Linked DNA regions of Homo sapiens: all the other regions are linked to region 3. The links are contacts of gene promoters, found by promoter capture Hi-C in blood cells and fetal thymus (Javierre and others, 2016). All regions are on one chromosome and are shown on one strand. The core of a region is centred on a gene start or on the middle of the fragment in contact, and the rest is flanking DNA. Distances in the headings are between cores, read along the strand shown.

Region 1 (3,975 bases), core at 851-3,350, 430 kb after region 3:
GAGGGAGGGAGGGAGGGAAGGAAGGAAGGAAGGAAGGAAGGAAGGAAGGAAGGAAGGAAGGAAGGAAGGAAGGAAGGAAATCACATGCCAGTGGAATAAAAGGGCTGTATTGGTGGATGGTCCTTGCCTAAGAAAACGTGGAGCCCTTGATTTTTCTCTTTGCCAAGATATTTGGAGTAGCTTCTGGCTGGCTTTGGTTTACATCAACCCTCATATTTGGGGGCCAGGCACTTGAAGTTGTCAAATTAACACATCCCAGCTGGGTAAGTCCCCCTGCCGTGTGGAGGGAGAAATCAACCAATCCATTGTACTTAGTAGTGAGTCCAGACTGTATGTGACAGGCACCATGGAGGGTTTGAGGCTTGTGACACAAAGCCCTGGCTGTCAGGTGGTTCCAGTTGGGGTGAAAGATAAGGCATCGCGTATTCTCTGGCACCAGCTAGAGTCCTGGGACAGAAAGGACGCAACAAGGCCCTTGACCATGGGGACTTAGAACTGCTGAGAAGCATCCATTCTGGCTGGATCGTGCCCCTGTCCCAGCTCTCTCCCCATAATGAATGCCAAAGCACATTCCTTGACTAAAGACCCCCACAGCTGCTCCACAGCTGGACTAGCCTTTGGCCTCCCCTTTGTCATGGTGACAGGAAACAGGAAAAATTGAGGAAGGCAGTGATTCTCAACCTCGACTGCTTGTTAAGAGTCACCTGGGGAACTGAAAAGCACAGACCTGTTCCTGCTTCCTCCAAGCCCACTGAAGCAGTGTCTGTCATGAGGGGCCCTGGTCTCACCTCTGAAAGCTCCACAACTGACTCTGGTGAGCAGCCAGGGGTGGGAGCCTCAGGGTAAGGTCTGACAACCAGGACCCCATTTGGATCCCCTGCTCATGCTGAGCCCACTTAGATGGCAGCAGCTGGGGGAATCTTGACGAAGGTGAAGTTTAGGACTGGATTAGTTCTCGCCAAAGACCCACTGGACAACTCACGAAAGGCCAGGGATGAAGTGCAGTCTCTAAAGTGGTGCTTTGGGCTGGTGATAGGCTGGGGAGCACCTAACCCCCAAGTGTGTAAAGCGGCTGATTTGGCAGGGATCGCAGGTAGCAGGTAGAAGGGACCAAAGAGATGGGTGTGCCTCTCAAGTGTTTCTCTTGGTGTAACAGCAGGGAATAGTCAATGAGGCATTCAGACGAAGTGAACACACAGAGAGATAAGGGAAAAGGTGTCCAGAATAGAAGAATCCACAGAGACAGACGGATGGGTTGCCTGGGATGGGGAAGGCGGGACTTGGGACTGGCTAACAGGTACACAGTTTCTTTTGCGGGTGATGGACATATTCTGGAGTTACACAATAGTAGTGATGTTTGCATAGCACAGTAAAATACACTAAATCCACTGATGCGCACTTTCAAATGAATTTTATGGTGTACAAATTTTTATCTGCCATTTTTTGATACTGGCAATTTTTTATCTCAATAAAAAAAAATCAATGCAGTTAATGCACCACTGTGAGGAGGGCCGCAACCCCAGCACAGGCGCCTCCCCACCATCACACTTGGAGAAAGTCTATGAGCTGGAGAGTAGGTCTGCGTCCAGCTCCCATGCACTTGACACCTAACAATGAGTGCTGGGTTTGAAGAGAGTTTTCTTTTTTCCTTTTTTGAGACAGAGTCTCACTCTGTTGCCCAGGCTGGAGTACAGTGGCCCAATCTCATCTCACTGCAACCTCCGCCTCCCAGGTTCAAGCGATTCTCCTGCCTCAGCCTCCCGAGTAGCTGGTACATGCCGCCACGCCCGGCTAGTTTTTGTATTTTTAGTAGCAATGGGGTTTCCCCATGTTGGCCAGGCTGGTCTCAAACTCCCGACCTCAAGTGATCTGCCCGCCTCAGCCTCCCAAAGTGCTGGGATTACAGGCGTGAGCCATTGTGCCTGGCCCCCATTTTATTTTTTAACTTTACCAAGAATTGTTTACCATTTTAGAAAATCACGATGTGTTTGTCACCGACACAACATACCCACATGCACTTGCATTCTTTCAGGGGTGACCCCACAATGGGCACAAGCACATAATGACTCCATCGTTTTCATTTAGTGTAGTCGTGCTCAAGCAGTACACACTGAAAGTTTATTCGTACTTTTTTTTTTTTTTTGAGACAGAGTCTCGCTCTGTCACCCAGGCTGGAGTGCAGTGGCTCGATCTCGGCTCACTGCAAGCTCCGCCTCCCAGGTTCACGCCATTCTCCTGCCTCAGCCTCTCCGAGTAGCTGGGACTACAGGCGCCCGCCACCATGCCCGGCTAATTTTTTGTATTTTTAGTAGAGACGGGGTTTCACCGTGGTCTCGATCTCCTGACCTCGTGATCCGCCCGCCTCGGCCTCCCAAAGTGCTGGGATTACAAGCGTGAGCCACCAGGCCCGGCCCTTATTCGTACTTTCATGTGTCCTTTACATTAGAGCTAAGGCATTATGTTTATTAATTGCTTAGGTACGTTTTGTTAGCAATCTCATTTTGTGATAGTAAAGGGGCATTGGAAAATAGTTGTTAAAAAGCAGGTGTTGAAAAGGAGTCTGGTGGGTTGAGAGCACTGTTCTAATCTTCCCAAACATGGTCCCGGGGAGACCGAGGTGTGGACCGGTACTGCCCTCTGGTGGCCGGGGTGGGAGAGACCCAGCAAGCACAAAGAACCCAGGGAAGAAGGGCCAGATGGTTTGCAGTGGCTCAAAATGGATGGAGATAAAAGATTCACCTTCTCCTCTGGGAGGATTCTCCACCCGCCCCCACCCCACCCCACCCCCGCCCAAGTCTCCATTCCCACCACCAGAAAAATTTCAGATTAAACATTTTTCTCTCCTGTAAAATGAGGGTATCACCTGCCTCGTAAGAATGAAGTCTTTTGGCTCTGATAGCTTAGCTCCCCACCGAGTCTCTGTCTTTCCACACCCCTTTCCCCAGCCCTTGGGCAGGTTACATCAGGCAGAGCCTAGGATGAGGTCCCTGAAGCATGGGATGACCCAGCAATCAGCTGAGCAGCCGGCTCTGGAATCAGGACCCAGAAAAACATGGGCTCAAGGCATAGCACTGGCGTAAACTAGCTGGGTGACACAGATAAGGCAGCCCTAGGGGATGTCACTAGATGCTGCCAAGGTCCAGTGCTCACATCCTGTGCCTCTCTAGAGTCTGCTCTGATAAGCAAACTATTTTTCAGTGGACAGAGTACAAGAACCAGGAGGAAACTATAACAAGCTGACTTTAATCAAAGACACCATCCACCAGGGATTTTAATTTTCTGAAACTGTAATATGCAAGTTTATTATCCCTTCACTGAACAGCACATCTGTTCAGAATATATCTGATCAAAGATATATTCAAGATCAGGGTATTAACTGTATCATGGGCCAGCAATTACCACGGAATTAGGATCTGATTAGGCATTCAGCCAATAAGCTGTGTTGAGCATCAGTGTGTGGAGTTGTTTCAGCCCAGCTTCACAGAATCTCATGTGTGAAATGTGAGCTGGTGCTGATTTCCTGATGATCATCATTCCCTCCAGCAGAGTTTCCCCCCAGCAACCTACCCTGGATGCTGTGCAAATTGAAGTCCACTTTGTGGGAGGTTGAAGTCACTGGTCATCACTTAGGAGGACCCCAGACCTGATGTTGAGTATCTAACACATACCTTAATCAGGGACCCAATCAGATGGTGCCTAAGGAAATGCCCTCAACCCATGACAGTCCATGGCAAGACTTGCAAATTTGATGGCCAAAGAATGTGACCAACACTAGTGGGATATGGGAGACTGAAGACTGTGACAAAATTAAAAATGCACACACTATCTGAATAGGGCAACAACTATGCAGCTCCAGACCAGATAACACAGGAACACAATCTGCCCTGAACAAGTTGGGTTGACTGCTCACTGTATAAGGAAGAACACACACCTCCAAAAACTGCGCGAAAGACTCAGTAAGATGTCAGAAAGGAT
Region 2 (4,105 bases), core at 626-3,125, 330 kb after region 3:
TCATGAAGAGACATGGAAGAATATTAAATGCATATCACTAAGTGAAAGAAGCCAATATGAAAAGGCTACAGAATGTATTATTCCAACTGTATAACATACTAGGAAAGGCAAAACTATGCAAACAGCAGTAAAAAGATTAGTAATTACCATGAGTTCAGGAGAGTGGGTGAGATGAATAGGTGGAGTACATTTTCAGAATAGTGAAACTATTATTCTGTATAATACTCCAGTGGTGAATACCTAACATTATGCATTTGTCAAAACCCATAGAACTGTGCAACATACATAGCGAACCCTAATATAAACTATAGGCTTCTGTTAATAATAATGTGTCTATATTTTTTCATCCATTGTAACAAGCATACCACACTAATGCAAGGTGTTAAAATAGGGGAAACTGAGGAAACGGGTAGGCTATCTGGAAACTCTTTGTACATTCTGCACAATTTTTCTGTAAACCTAAAAGTGCTCTAAAAAATAGTCTATTGTCTGGTCTGAGTACAGTAGTATTTACAACTAATTGATCACAATCTGTTACAGATTTCTTTTTTTTATTTTAAGCTTGAGGGTACATGTGAAAGTTACATAGATAATCATGTGTCATGAGGGTTTGTTGTACATATTACTAGATCGCCCAAGTACTAAACCCAGTACCCAAGAGTTGTGTTTTCTGCCCTTCTCCCTCCTTGTAACCTGCCCCCTCAAGAAGACCCCAGTGTCTTTTGTTTCCCTCTTTGTGTTCATAAGTTCTTATCATTTAGCTCCCACTTGTAAGTGAGACAATGTGGTATTTGGTTTTCTGTTCCTGCATTAGTTTGCAAAGGATGATAGCCTCCAACTCCATCCATATTCTTGTAAAATATATGATATTGTTCTTTTTTATGACTGCATAATATTCCATGGTGTGTATGTTCCACATTTTGTTTATCCAGTTTGTTACTGATGGGCATTTAGGTTGATTCCATGTCCTTGCTATTGTGAACAGTACTGCCACGAATATTTGTGTACATGTGTCTTTATGGTAGAATGCTTTATATTCCTCTGGGTATACACCCAGTAATAGGATTGCTGTGTTGAATGGTAGCTTTTAGCTCTTTGAGGGATCACTATACTGCTTCTCACAATGGTTAAACTAATTTACACTCCCACCAACAGCGTATAAGAGTTTCCTTTTCTTTGCAACCTTGCCAGCATCAGTTATTTTTTGACTTTTTAATAATAGCCATTTTGACTGGTGTGAGATGCTATCTCATTGTGCTTTTGATTTGCATTTGTCAAATGATCAGTGATATCGAGCATTTTTTTCATATGCTTGTTGGCCACATATATGTCTTCTTTCAAGAAGTGTCTGTTCATGTCTTTTGCCCACTTTTTAATAGGGTTGGTTTTTTTTCTTGTAAATTTGTTTAAGTTCCTTATAGATGCTGGACATTAGACCTTTGTCAGATGCATAGTTTGCAAATATTTTCTCCCATTCTGTAAGTTGTCTGTTTATTCTGTTGATAGTTTGTTTTGCTGTGCAGAAGCTCTAAAGTTTAATTAGGTCTCATTTGTCAATTTTTACTTTTGTTGCAATTGCTTTTGGCATCTTCATCATTAAATCTTTGCCCATTCCTATGTCCGGGATAGTATTGCCTAGGTTGTCTTCCAGGATTTTTATAGTTTTGGGTTTTACATTTAAGTCTTTATTTTATCTTGAGTTGACGTTTAGATATGATGTAAGGAATGGGTCCAGCTTCAATCTTCTGCATATGGCTAGCCAGTTATCCCAGAACCATTTATTGAATAGGAAGTCTTTTCCCCATTGTTTTTGTCAGCTTTGTCAAAGATCAGATGGTCGTAGATGTGTGGCCTTATTTCTGGGCTCTCTATTCTGTTCCATTGGTCTATGTCCCTGTTTTTATACCTGTACTATGCTGTTTTGGTCACTGTAGACTTGTAGTATACTTTGAAATCAGGTAACATGATTCCCCCACCTTTGTTCTTTCTGCTTAGGATTGCCTTGGCTATTTGGGCTCTTTTTTGGTTCCATATAAATTTTTAAGTAATTTTTCTAGTTCTGTGAAGAATGTCATTGGTAGTTTGATAGAAATAGTATTAAATCTGTAAATTGCTTTGGGCAGTATAGCCATTTTAATGATGTTGATTTTTCCTATCCACAAACATGGGATGTTTTTCCACTTGTTTGCATCTTCTCTGATTACTTCGAGCAGTGTTTTGTAATTCTCATTGTAGAGATCTTTCACCTCCCTAGTTAGCTGTAGTCCTAGGTAGTGTGTGTGTGTGTGTGTGTGTGTGTGTGTGTGTGTGCATTCATGTGTGAATTGTGAATGTAATTGTCTTTCTGATTTGGCTCTCAGTTTGGTTGTTAGTGGTGTATAGGAATGCTAGTGATTTTTGTACATTGATTTTGTATCCTGGAATTTTGCTGAAGTTGTTTGTCAGCTGAAGGAGATTTTGGGACAAGACTATGGGGTTTTCTAGATATAGAATCATATTGTCTGCAAAAGGAGGTAGTTTGACTTCCTCTCTTCCTATTTGTACACCCTTTATTTCTTTCTCTTGCCTGATTGCTCTGGCTAGAACTTCCAATACTATGTTGAACAGAAGTGGTGAGAGAGGGCATCCTTCTCTTGTGCTGGTTTTCAAGGGGAATGCTTCCAGCTTTTGCCCATTCCATATAATGTTGGCTGAGTGTTTGTCATAGATGGATCTATTTTTCTGGGGTATGTTCTTTCAATACTTAGTTTATTGAGAGTTTTTAACATGAAGCAATGCTGAATTTTATCAAAAGCCTTTTCTGCATCTATTAAGATAATCATATGGTTTTTGCTTTAGTTCTGTTTATGTGATGAATCACATTTATTGATTGTTGTATGTTGAGCCAACTTTGCATCCTGGGGATGAAGCCTACTTGATCATGGTGGATTAGCTTTTTGATGTGCAGCTGGATTTGGTTTGCAAGTATTTTCTTGAGGATTTTTGTATCAATGTACACCAAGGATATTGGCCTGAAGTTTTCTTTTTTTGTTGTGTCTCTGCCAGGCTTTGATATCAAAATGACACTGGCCTCACAGAATGAGTTGGGGAGAAGTCCCTCCTCCTCAATTTTTTGGAATAGTTTCTGTAGGAATGGTACCACCTCTTCTTTGTACATCTAGTAGAATTCAGCTGTGAATCCATCAGGTCCCAAGCTTTTTTTGCTTGATAGGCTATTATCACTGATTCCATTTTGGAGCTTGTTATTGGTCTATTCAGGGAATCAATTTCTTCCTGGCTCAGTCTTGGGAAAGTGTATGTGTCCAGGAATTTATCCTTCTCTTCTAGATTTTCTAGTTTGTGTGCATAGAGGTGTTTATAGTAGTTTCTGAGGGTTGTTTTTATTTCTGTGAGGTCAGTAGTAACAGTCCCTTTGTCATTTCTAATTGTGTTTATTTGGATCTTCTCTTCGCTTCTTAATTAGTCTAGCTAGTGGCCTATTTCATTGATTTTTTTCAAAAAAAAAAACTCCTGGATTCATTGATCTTTTGAATGGTTTTTCGTGTCTCAATTTCCTTCAGCTAAGCTCTGATTTTTGTTATTTCTTGTCTTCTGCTAGCTTTGAAATTGATTTGTTCTTGCTTCTTCAATTCTTTCAGTTGTGAGGTTAGGTTATTACTTTGAGATCTTTCTAATTTTTTGATTTTGGACATTTAGTGCTGTGAATTTTACTGTTAACACTGCCTTAGCTGTGTCCCACAGATTCTGGTATGTTATATCTTTGTTCTCATTATCTTCAAAGAACTTCTTGATTTCTGCCTTAATTTCATTATTTACCCAAAAGTCATTCAGGGGCTTGTTGTTTAATTTCCACGTAATTGTATGGTTTTGAGAAATTTTCATTGTGTTGATCTTTATTTTTATTGTACTGTGGTCTGACAGTGTGTTTGGTATAATTTTGGTCCTTTTACATTTGTTGAGGATTGTTTTATGTCCAATTATGTGGTCAATTTAAGAGTATGTGTCATGTGACAATGTGAAGAATATACATTCTGTTGTTTTGGGGTGAAGACTTCTATAAAGGTCTATCAGATCCATTTGGTCCAATGTTCACTTTAGGTCCTGA
Region 3 (4,267 bases), core at 419-2,918:
AACTGTGAGTCCATTAAACCTATTTTTCTTTATAAATGACCCAGTCTCAGGTATGTCTTTATCAGCAATGTGAGAACAGACTAATACATTCGGTTTCCTCATTCATAAAAATAGAGTTGGGGGGTGGGGAAGTGGGTCTTAAACTTTTCCTATCTCACGGTACAGGAATAAAGGGGGATAAAATATCTTAGGTGTCTGGTCCAGAAAAGGTAATTATAAATGTTACTTATGTTTCCTTCTCCTCCTAATTTATCCAATAAATGCAAAAACTCTGAGGCACTCACTGTCTTTTGCTCTTTATCCATTCATCAAACTTTCCTTGGAGCCTAATTGCATGCCAGATACATAACTTCATAAAACACATGTGGTTGTCTCTGGTCCTGTGGAACTACAGTGACAGGGGAGGGGGCAGAAATGAAACAGCTTACTGATAAATGAGTGAATGAATTTGGCTAGATTAATAGGAGTGGGTGAAAGGTAGCATGAATAAACACTCCATTAGGGAAAAAGAAAATTAAGCTAAATTCAAAGTACCAAGTGTGCACGTGGAAGCCAGATCCTGGGAGTTTCTGAAATTCTCTGCGCCTCCCTTTCCTCTTCTACAAAATGGAGATAGTAATAGATGGTAACTCTTTTGGGTTACTGTGAAAAGTAAAACAACACTCCCCTCCCTCATCCTCACTAACCCAGCATATCAACCAGTTTTCTGAGATGTCTAGATTTCCATTTGGCCTCCAGCCAGCTTGAACAGCCAAACTGCCCCCAAGAAAGCACCCTGAATGTGAGGTCATCCAGGGTCCTAGGACTCCATCATACCCACTCCAAAACTAAAAGCCCACAGACCGTGGGGGTAGGACCTGACTAGCTGAAACATGCTGACCAAGCTACCTGAAGCACCTCTGAGGTATGCCCAGGCCTCAGGGTTGTCAAGCAGAAAAACCAGCACCTCCAGCCAGGTGTGTCTCTCTCATAAAGAAAGCTGAAACAGTTTTCCCTGCTTCTGAGTGGCAAGCTCGCCCCCAGATGTTTCTGAGAGCACCGCCCTTGCATTCCCACCAGGCCACCTGAGAACCTGGCCTCCCACATCTGGATTCGGCTGAAGCAGCAGTGTTTGAGAGAAAGGTGAGACTGGACAGTCAAGAAAGGGACAGAAAGTCGACGGTCTGGGAACTATCCCAGCGTGGACATTTACAGAAGCCACATACCTGTGTGTCCTCACTCCTCACAGGAGGACCGTGCAAAGGCAAATTGCTAGGCAGGTAGACCTCACAGATTCTCTCAGCCGGGCAGTCGGTGAGTCTGTCCAAAGCATTTGAATCTGAAGATAAAATGTTAAGAAGAAAATCCTAGAAAAACATGTCACATATATTCTACCCACCGAACCAAACAAAAACAAAAAAGAAACACTTAATTTTTAATAATGGGCGCAAGAAGTACTCAAAGTAATAAATAATAATAATAATAAAAGTTACTTCTTAGCCTGACTGTCCTGGACGAGAATTCCGTCCCCACTTGCAGGTCGGGCACTGAGTGCCTGGACAGAGAGTTAGGTCCCCCGCTTACCCCGCCCTAAGGCTGCGGAAGGCGGCGCCATCGGTCGCCATGGAAATCGCGGCGGATGGGCGGATCCTGGGCAGGTTGGCTGGGTCGGGCTGCCCGGGCGACGCCGGAGTTGCAGTTGGAGGCTGCGGGAATACAAAGGTAAGAGAGCAACTCCTGGGTTCCCTTGACTCGCAAGGGCTTGACCCCTGCCCGGGTTCTGGGAAAGTGAAGCAGAAAGTCGCCTCCCAGCGCAGAATATTCAAATTTGCCAGATGATCAGAATTACGCTGATTTAAAACCCAAACCCTCCCTAGTTTCCCACTCCTGCCCTGCTAAATCAAAATCTCCCAGCCAGGATCCGGAATCTGGATTTAACCAGGGGCCGTTTATAGAGTTGGGAGATTGGTAGATACGAGGTTCGCCTATTCTTATTTCTCAACGCCATACCACTACCCCGTAATGGTAAAAGAATTTGCACCCCAAAATCCTCCCCAGCGGCTCTGAAATGGAGTGCTTGGAGCTGGAAATGCGGAGCCCATTCCTCTCCTTGCAATACTGAAAGTTGTGAGCTGATTGGAAGCGTCGCTGCTTCTTGTGGGTTTCCCACTGGGGGGCAGCCTCGTCCTTCGCTCCTATTCCTTCCGCAAAGCAGAGCCGACAGTGTGGTTTCTGGCTAATTCCGGCTGCAGCCTGGTTAATAATATAAGCAGCACTTCTAGGAAGCGGAGCTTGGATGCAGAGCAGAGCCTAGGGCTGTAAATGGAAGAAGCTCTCAGCCCCAATTCCTAGTTTACAGTTAGGGTTCAGAACAAAGAATCCACGCTTGTAAAGCAATAATGTTCCCCTTGAGGGGAACATTACACTGCCCTTCAGTTCACGTGTATTATTTCTCAGCCCCCCCGAGCTTTATCTTTCATTGGGCAATCAGGTGGGACTTCAGGATTGATGGAGCCAAGCGTTAGCCTTGGCTGCACACTGAGTAACTATGAGCCTCACCTGACCACCTTCAGGAGGCAGCGTGGTGGTGAGAGAGGACTCGCTTCTGCGCTAATGGGGATCGCCATAGCTTCAATGACTATAAAATCAGGACCTGTCGTATCTGCATAGCCTGTCTTAGAGGTTTACGGGACGCTCAGCTCAATAGAGTGGGATAATCTATGGGTCTCTAGTACCTCATGCATTTACTGTACCTTATTTTGATAACCTGTTTATAGGTCTGACTTCTGTTATTTCATGTATAGGCATTGTCAGCTTAAAATCATGAGATCTTAAATTTGGAGAGGAGACTTTATTTCTTATAACGAGTTGCAGCTTGCAGGGTGGCCATCATGACAGGTAGAAGCTAGCCTCTGGCAGAGACCAATAGCAGGCACTTCAGAGGATAAAAGGGAGAGGTTGAGATTTATGCCCAAGGAAATTAGCTATACATACATATTCAGTAGGTTATAGGAGAATCTTATGAATATTTATGAGTCAATACATATGCACAGAATGAACATGTATGTAACATACAACACATGTTCACTTTGGGGTGGAGACAACATTAAGATACAGTCAAATTTAGGCCACACACATTAAAAGGTGAAGCAGGGACATGAAAGTAATCAACGCTCAGCCTCTATGAATCAGCCAGAACCGGTCTGTGGTCTCTTAGAAGAAAGTTACTGAAATCAGTCTCTTGTCCAGTCAGAGCTGTAGTTATGCCTTGTGGAGCACGAGGTCAGTTAGTCAGTGTTTGGTGGTTAGTGAGCTGCAATTGTTTCAATATTGCTTATCTGGAGACCAGTGCTTGTTTTGCTGATAGAGAAAAAGAAAAACCTTGAGGCAGTTAGAAAATAGTTTATTCTTTAACTGTAGGGGCTGTAGGACTTAACCCTTGCCTACTACCACCTTAGGTCTTGTTTATAATTTGGTATCTTATTACCACAAAGAGTCCATTCTGTCAGCTTATGACCTCTATTTTAGCAACATAAAATAAGAGCAGCTTTTTCTACATCACGTAGAATGCACTTCCTCCAATTCAAACTTCCAAATCATGAATTATTGCTAAAAGGAGGTGAAAGGGCTGAGAAGGTTAGGGCCAAGTGAGCAGACCACAGTATATCCTTTGGGATAATAAATGTCATTTTACATAAGAAAGAGACCCATGGTCAAATAAGTGTGTAAAATACTTGATTAAATGTATTTCTTTACTGCAGGACTTTTTTTCAGAAATTTTAGAAAGCAAATATATATTGTGACTCTTCAAGTTAAAGTTATACTTACAGCATTTCTCACATTTATTTCCTGTGAAACTTTTTTGTACAATGACTTGCAGAGCAACTATTCCACAGAACATACTTTGGAAAACACTAAACTGGAACACCAATGACCTCCCCAAGAGGTCTCCGTAAGGTAGAATGGTAGACAGCTGTTGGACACGTCTGGTTTTTCAAAGTGGCAAAATAGTTTTGGGCTGTCTTCCTCAAGAGGGGGATGGGAGAAGCCTTTTGAAACAGAGTAGATAAAGAATTAATTTGGCAGGGAGGACAAACTTACATTATGTTTCAGATGCTCAACATTATTTAATTCTCAAAATTGCTGTCTCAAATGGATACGGTTATCCCCACTTTACAAGCAACAAAACTGACATTCATGAATTAGTCAAATGCCACCTTCAAGCTCACATAGCCAGGAAGTGATAGCACTGGTATTTGGAGCCAAATCTTTAGTATAGTACAGTGAA

What was found. Contacts are between HindIII fragments. The CHiCAGO score rates a contact against its expected background, and 5 or more counts as called.
Region 1: a fragment that was not itself captured here is called in contact with the fragment with the promoter of FRMD3-AS1 in region 3 in 1 of 17 cell types (monocytes); the score reaches 5.1 in monocytes.
Region 2: a contact is called between a fragment that was not itself captured here and the fragment with the promoter of FRMD3-AS1 in region 3, in 1 of 17 cell types (endothelial precursors). The highest score is 5.1, in endothelial precursors.

Annotation. Positions count from the first base shown.
Region 1 is chr9:83,646,665-83,650,639 of GRCh38, forward strand. No RefSeq gene overlaps it. Among named protein-coding and RNA genes, the nearest start is that of IDNK, 26 kb to the left of the region's middle. The HindIII fragment of the contact is 6,539 bases long and covers 1-3,975 here.
Region 2 is chr9:83,548,415-83,552,519 of GRCh38, forward strand. It overlaps a transcript of FRMD3 not described here. Among named protein-coding and RNA genes, the nearest start is that of FRMD3, 12 kb to the left of the region's middle. The HindIII fragment of the contact is 2,633 bases long and covers 560-3,192 here.
Region 3 is chr9:83,217,677-83,221,943 of GRCh38, forward strand. It overlaps FRMD3-AS1 (FRMD3 antisense RNA 1), which reads left to right and starts at 1,669. Exons shown (of 3, transcript NR_184120.1): 1 at 1,669-1,701. It also overlaps a transcript of RASEF not described here. The HindIII fragment of the contact is 11,674 bases long and covers 1-4,267 here.